2 separate regions of the Homo sapiens genome follow, and region 2 is linked to region 1. The links are contacts of gene promoters, found by promoter capture Hi-C in blood cells and fetal thymus (Javierre and others, 2016). All regions are on one chromosome and are shown on one strand. Each heading gives the region's core, a stretch centred on a gene start or on the middle of the fragment in contact. The rest is flanking DNA. Distances are from core to core; before and after follow the strand shown.

The links. Contacts are between HindIII fragments. The CHiCAGO score rates a contact against its expected background, and 5 or more counts as called.
Region 2: a contact is called between a fragment that was not itself captured here and the fragment with the promoter of H1-4 in region 1, in 1 of 17 cell types (naive B cells). The highest score is 5.5, in naive B cells.

The regions. Positions count from the first base shown.
Region 1 is chr6:26,154,893-26,157,592 of GRCh38, forward strand. H1-4 (H1.4 linker histone, cluster member) reads left to right here and starts at 1,437. Exons shown (of 1, transcript NM_005321.3): 1 at 1,437-2,223. The coding sequence starts at 1,499. The coding sequence ends at 2,158. RefSeq lists enhancers at 1,165-1,916, 1,441-1,600, 1,861-1,940, 2,670-2,700 and a silencer at 2,231-2,280. The HindIII fragment of the contact is 19,818 bases long and covers 1-2,700 here.
Region 2 is chr6:27,111,893-27,114,805 of GRCh38, forward strand. No RefSeq gene overlaps it. Among named protein-coding and RNA genes, the nearest start is that of TRS-GCT1-1, 16 kb to the left of the region's middle. The HindIII fragment of the contact is 1,876 bases long and covers 585-2,460 here.

The sequences.
Region 1 (2,700 bases), core at 187-2,686:
TTAGCCAGGATGGTCTTGATCTCCTGACCTCGTGATCCGCCCGTCTCGGCCTCCCAAAGTGCTGGGATTACAGGCGTGAGCCACCGCGCCCGGACCAGAAATAATTCTTTTGGTTGGGCTTTCATTGCCAGCTTACATACACTCTTCTTGATTGGGCAACTACCTAAAGAAATTCACTCAGACATTGTTCAAAGGATGTTTTCAGAGGGCAATGATTTATAATAGCTTAGATAGACTCTCAAAGCTCTACTTCTGAGATCGAAATTTGAACTTGTCGTTTAATCACTACATGTCACTTATTTTTCTTTCTATTGAGCTCTGGGAAGCATTGGAATACAATCTTCAGGGGGATTGAAACCATACGTGGTGAGTGGACTAGTCATTCCTCAACTATTCAGTAATAATAGGGGCTGGGTTTCACTAATAATGGGAGTAGATGTTTCAATCTACGTTTCTTATTTATTTTGCCTTATCATCAATGCTTGAATTTCAGCTCTAAGCTACTTTATTGCAATTTGGTTCTGAAGCATATGCCAAAAGCACTCAGCAAGGCTGCAGACAAATGCTTTAAAGTAAAGTGCACCTCCACTTCCAGTGACTTTATGAACATCACATTTGAAAATTAATCCTTTTTCATCTCTGTACCCTGAGTACATTTTGGACTTCCCTTCGTTCCCAAATACCCTGAATTCAAGGTATCTCAATCCATGGAGCAATTGTCCAGAGGAAGAGAGAAGCAACAGCCCCGCCCCCAACCCTTGGGAGCAGAAAGGGAAAGAATTATCCAAAGAATTGTTTAAAAACTCAGATGTAGCGGACAGATGTAAAACCATGGCTGTATAGATTGATGTCCCAGGGGTCCAAAACTTAATCTCAAATGGGCAATAATTTGTTTGGCATTAAACTAAACCAGTTTGATGAACTCAAATGCCCTCGGCTCAATAGGCAGGACTCTCCGAGGAGCCTGTGTTACTTCCCTCACTTAAGTGCAGATTTGTAATAAAAATCTTAATGCCAGTGGCATGCTTTTTGGATATATAAGAAGCTAACCACTTGGAGTATCATATTTGAGAGGTCAGAAAAGTCCACAGTTAAAGATCGGTTTATAATTTACGAAGAAAATAGAAAGTTTTGTTTCTCTGAGTTGAAATTTGCCAAGCACGGCGGGAAATATTGCAAGTTTTTGGCACAAGGCTTTGTGCTTCCCTTATAATTTGAGATCTGCGTGAAGCCTGAGGGTTCGGGGATCATTATCTGAGAAAAACCGGGCAGTTCGGTGTAGACAATTTTTATATTTTTGGCTTTTTTTGAGGTGTAACAAACACAACTCGGGATCCGAGAGGACACTCTGCGGCTGCCAGCGAGGCGGGCTGGACAGCGCACCAATCACGGCGCAGCTCCGCCCTATATAAACGGGCGGGCGCAGCGCCGCGGCTCGAGTCCCGGCCAGTGCCTCTGCTTCCGGCTCGAATTGCTCTCGCTCACGCTTGCCTTCAACATGTCCGAGACTGCGCCTGCCGCGCCCGCTGCTCCGGCCCCTGCCGAGAAGACTCCCGTGAAGAAGAAGGCCCGCAAGTCTGCAGGTGCGGCCAAGCGCAAAGCGTCTGGGCCCCCGGTGTCCGAGCTCATTACTAAAGCTGTTGCCGCCTCCAAGGAGCGCAGCGGCGTATCTTTGGCCGCTCTCAAGAAAGCGCTGGCAGCCGCTGGCTATGACGTGGAGAAGAACAACAGCCGCATCAAGCTGGGTCTCAAGAGCCTGGTGAGCAAGGGCACCCTGGTGCAGACCAAGGGCACCGGCGCGTCGGGTTCCTTCAAACTCAACAAGAAGGCGGCCTCTGGGGAAGCCAAGCCTAAGGCTAAAAAGGCAGGCGCGGCCAAGGCCAAGAAGCCAGCAGGAGCGGCGAAGAAGCCCAAGAAGGCGACGGGGGCGGCCACCCCCAAGAAGAGCGCCAAGAAGACCCCAAAGAAGGCGAAGAAGCCGGCTGCAGCTGCTGGAGCCAAAAAAGCGAAAAGCCCGAAAAAGGCGAAAGCAGCCAAGCCAAAAAAGGCGCCCAAGAGCCCAGCGAAGGCCAAAGCAGTTAAACCCAAGGCGGCTAAACCAAAGACCGCCAAGCCCAAGGCAGCCAAGCCAAAGAAGGCGGCAGCCAAGAAAAAGTAGAAAGTTCCTTTGGCCAACTGCTTAGAAGCCCAACACAACCCAAAGGCTCTTTTCAGAGCCACCCACCGCTCTCAGTAAAAGAGCTGTTGCACTATTAGGGGGCGTGGCTCGGGAAAACGCTGCTAAGCAGGGGCGGGTCTCCCGGGAACAAAGTCGGGGAGAGGAGTGGGATTTTGTGTGTCTCCGGAGCTATTTTTGACTAAGGCGTCGCGTCGCCCAAGCCGGAGTGCAGTGGCGTCATCTCGATTTTGCGTTCTCGAGTGTCGGAGTTGAACCCATTTGGGCCTCCCTTGTGCTTTGCACTTTTAGCAGGCCCTGGCCTCCAGATAGCATGGGAAAAAAAATGTTGGGATTTTCCCGGGTTTCTAAGCTGGGTTTTTCCGAGTTCCAAACACGGCACAGTGTATCAGTTTCTGTGCTGGTTACAAGCCTACTGGTTATCCCTATCGAGTATGGCAGGCAGTGAGGGACTTCAGAGGAGTACGTCTTAGGACAAGTGGCATAGTACTGACATTATTTCCGAAGGGCTACATTTCAAGTGC
Region 2 (2,913 bases), core at 273-2,772, 960 kb after region 1:
TACAAAATTCCTTTTATATATTCCCCTTCACAAACCTTGTCACAACTTACAAAGACCATCTGTGATATGCTTGGACTTTCTGACTTGTCCTATACTACCTCTTCCTTAAATACCTAGTAATTTGACTCTAGAACAAGAGTTTACCATATAAGATTTTCTTTTCATACTGCAATAGTCCTCTCATATTGATTTTTTAAAATTGAAGATCCTTTTTCATATACAGTTATGCTCTTTTCTTTATAACCTTCCTTTATACAATCATTCTTTATGACCTTCCTTACCAAAAATACATCTCCACATCCATAACTTTCTTCACATCTCTCTCCTACTTATAGATTCCTTATTTCATAGCCTTTTCTAATCCATAATTTGAATCAACCTTTATATAGTTTCTGAATTTGACAAAATTATTATCTCAATAAGAACACATTTTAACTAAATATTTTTATTTGCCACTTCAAAAGTTACCTAAGCCTCTTCCATGGAGATGGTAAGGTGTCCAGTGGGAGCTGTGGGGGACCTTGGGCCCGGTCAGTCTTGTTTTCTTGGCCATTATGGGTTTGGGTAGCCTAGGCTCCCTTTGAAGCTTGGAACAGTCCCTTTTTCAATGGCCCTCTTGCTTACAGAAGGCACAGTGATATTGGCCCTGGGGCCAGCAAGTTCGGGGCTCTCATCTGGGCATCTGAGATGCTGATCTCAAATCTCCTCAGGCTGGCTAACCCTGAGGTGGGAGAGGGTGCTTAAAGTAGTCACTAACAATTGCATTTTGGATATTATTTCTTTTGGTTATCTCTGCCTGTTTTGACCTGTGCCTATTGTTGTAAACTGGAAAGGCCATATTTAAAAATTGGCTTATAGGAGTTTGCGTTTCCCCTTTCTGCCTGTTATAGCTTCCTCCTAACATCAAGGACAGACTGAGTGATAAAAGAGTTTGCCTTTCTGGGGAGTCTGTCCTGCAATATTTCCTGAGTGCCTCAACCAAACAGCCCTGACTAGAATAGGATTTTTATCCTCCCCTACAGTTACTTCTCTAACCTTGTCATAATTAACTGGATTAAGCACACTTTCATATCTTCTATTAAACAAGTTACCTATGATTTCTACATTTGAGATCTCAGGAACCCCTCTGGTAATCCCATGGGGGTCCAAATCTGGAAGTACACTCCCACATACAATAAATGGCATGATCCTGGTTACAAGCAGCCATTCCATCAGCATATGCCCAGGCAGTATTCAAAAATCCCTTGTTTCTCCTCTACAGCACAGCAGGTGGACACTATTTGCAAGTCATGCCAAGTTACATCAAACTATAAACTTCCCTGGATCCTCTGATACCAGCCAATGTTTCCCTTGCATGAAGCTAAATCAGACATGGAAAAAGGCACAAGTACTGTTCCCGCCATTAGCAACGTCTCAACCTCTCACAATAGATGTAAGTTTGATTTTAAGGGCTGATAGGACTTTATCACTCCTGATTAGACTGGTTGGACTTATTTCCTCAGGCAGTATGGCATATAGGCTGGAGCTAGTTGGTTAAAGCAGAGGGGTGCCTGATGAACTTGGGATGGAATCCTGTAGTGGAGAACTGGCAGGACCCCCTTCCTCATATTAAGGCACCAAGGAGGCTCCAGGGAGAGTGAACCATTTTTAGGCCAAATTTCTTGGGAAATTAATTTGTACTAAACACTGTTATAATAGAAGATGAGTTTTTAAGACATCAAATTTGAATTTGCTTTAGTTGCCTAAAAGGCACCCTAGCAGGAAGTGTTTCAGGACGCTCACTGTTGTTATGTCTACCAGAGATACCTACTAAACCCAGAAATTCTTCCAAGTCCAGAGAGTCCAGTTACTTTTCCTTTCAAATTTCCACCTCCCTTTTCTTCAAGAGCAGTAGGGAAATTACCACTGACTCCTGCCAAAAGAACATGGGTATCAAGAAGTAGGTGCCACAAAAGTGAAAGATGAGTGGGCAGTGGGCTGGCAACTACCATCACTAGCTAATGGAATGTTACAAAGAAGGCACTTTAAGTATGGAAGTAAAAAAACGCTGACCAAATTAAGAACCCTTAGTGGAAATTTAAACCCCAATCTTAGAAAGGTGACCAAAAAACAAAGCCCCTAGGGCAGGACTCTCAATTCTAACGCCACGTAGAGTGGGACTGACAATAACCCAATAAATTCCCCCTAGAGTGGGACTCTAACCCAATCCTAGAAGGAACATGGCTCTGACATACAACCATGCATTTAGGAACTGAATGGTAATATCAAGTAGCCAGTCATTAGAGATTTAATAGACGATGGTCAAAAACGGGGCAATGGGGACATAATCTGAACATGGGACTAGCTGGAGGCCCCACTTTCATTTCCTGGTTTACCCAGAAAGGTCAATATGACAGGGAAATCACAGAAACCACATGGTGCCAATTGGCCATTAATTTGGGTCCAGGCAAAGGTTTCCAAAGCTTCAGTGTACAACCAGTTAGTCACCAAGAAAACATGGCTCTGAAAAGAGCCTTTGGCTAGTATATAGCATTACAGTATCACAACTCCAAACTTTATCTTGATGGTCAACCCGCTCATCTTGATGCTCCCTTCATGGTCTCTTCATTTTGATGGTTCCTTCCTTCAGGGTCACCAGGCTGACACAGGTGAACCCCAAAATTGGGACTTAACCCTGGAGGGCTTTTGGCTTCAGAGTTAATTTAAAAACACTTCCTAGACCAATAGTGTACAGCAAACTGCTCCATAAACAAAGGGCGACCTGTGTGCTAACCCACAGGCAGCACAGCCTGTAGTAGTAGTATACAGAAAAGTGGGTGCTCCACAGAGCACAAGCTAACCCACAGGCAGAGCAGCCAAGTAGCAGCATGCAGCAAAGTGGGCGCTCCACACAGCACAAGCTAACGCACAGGC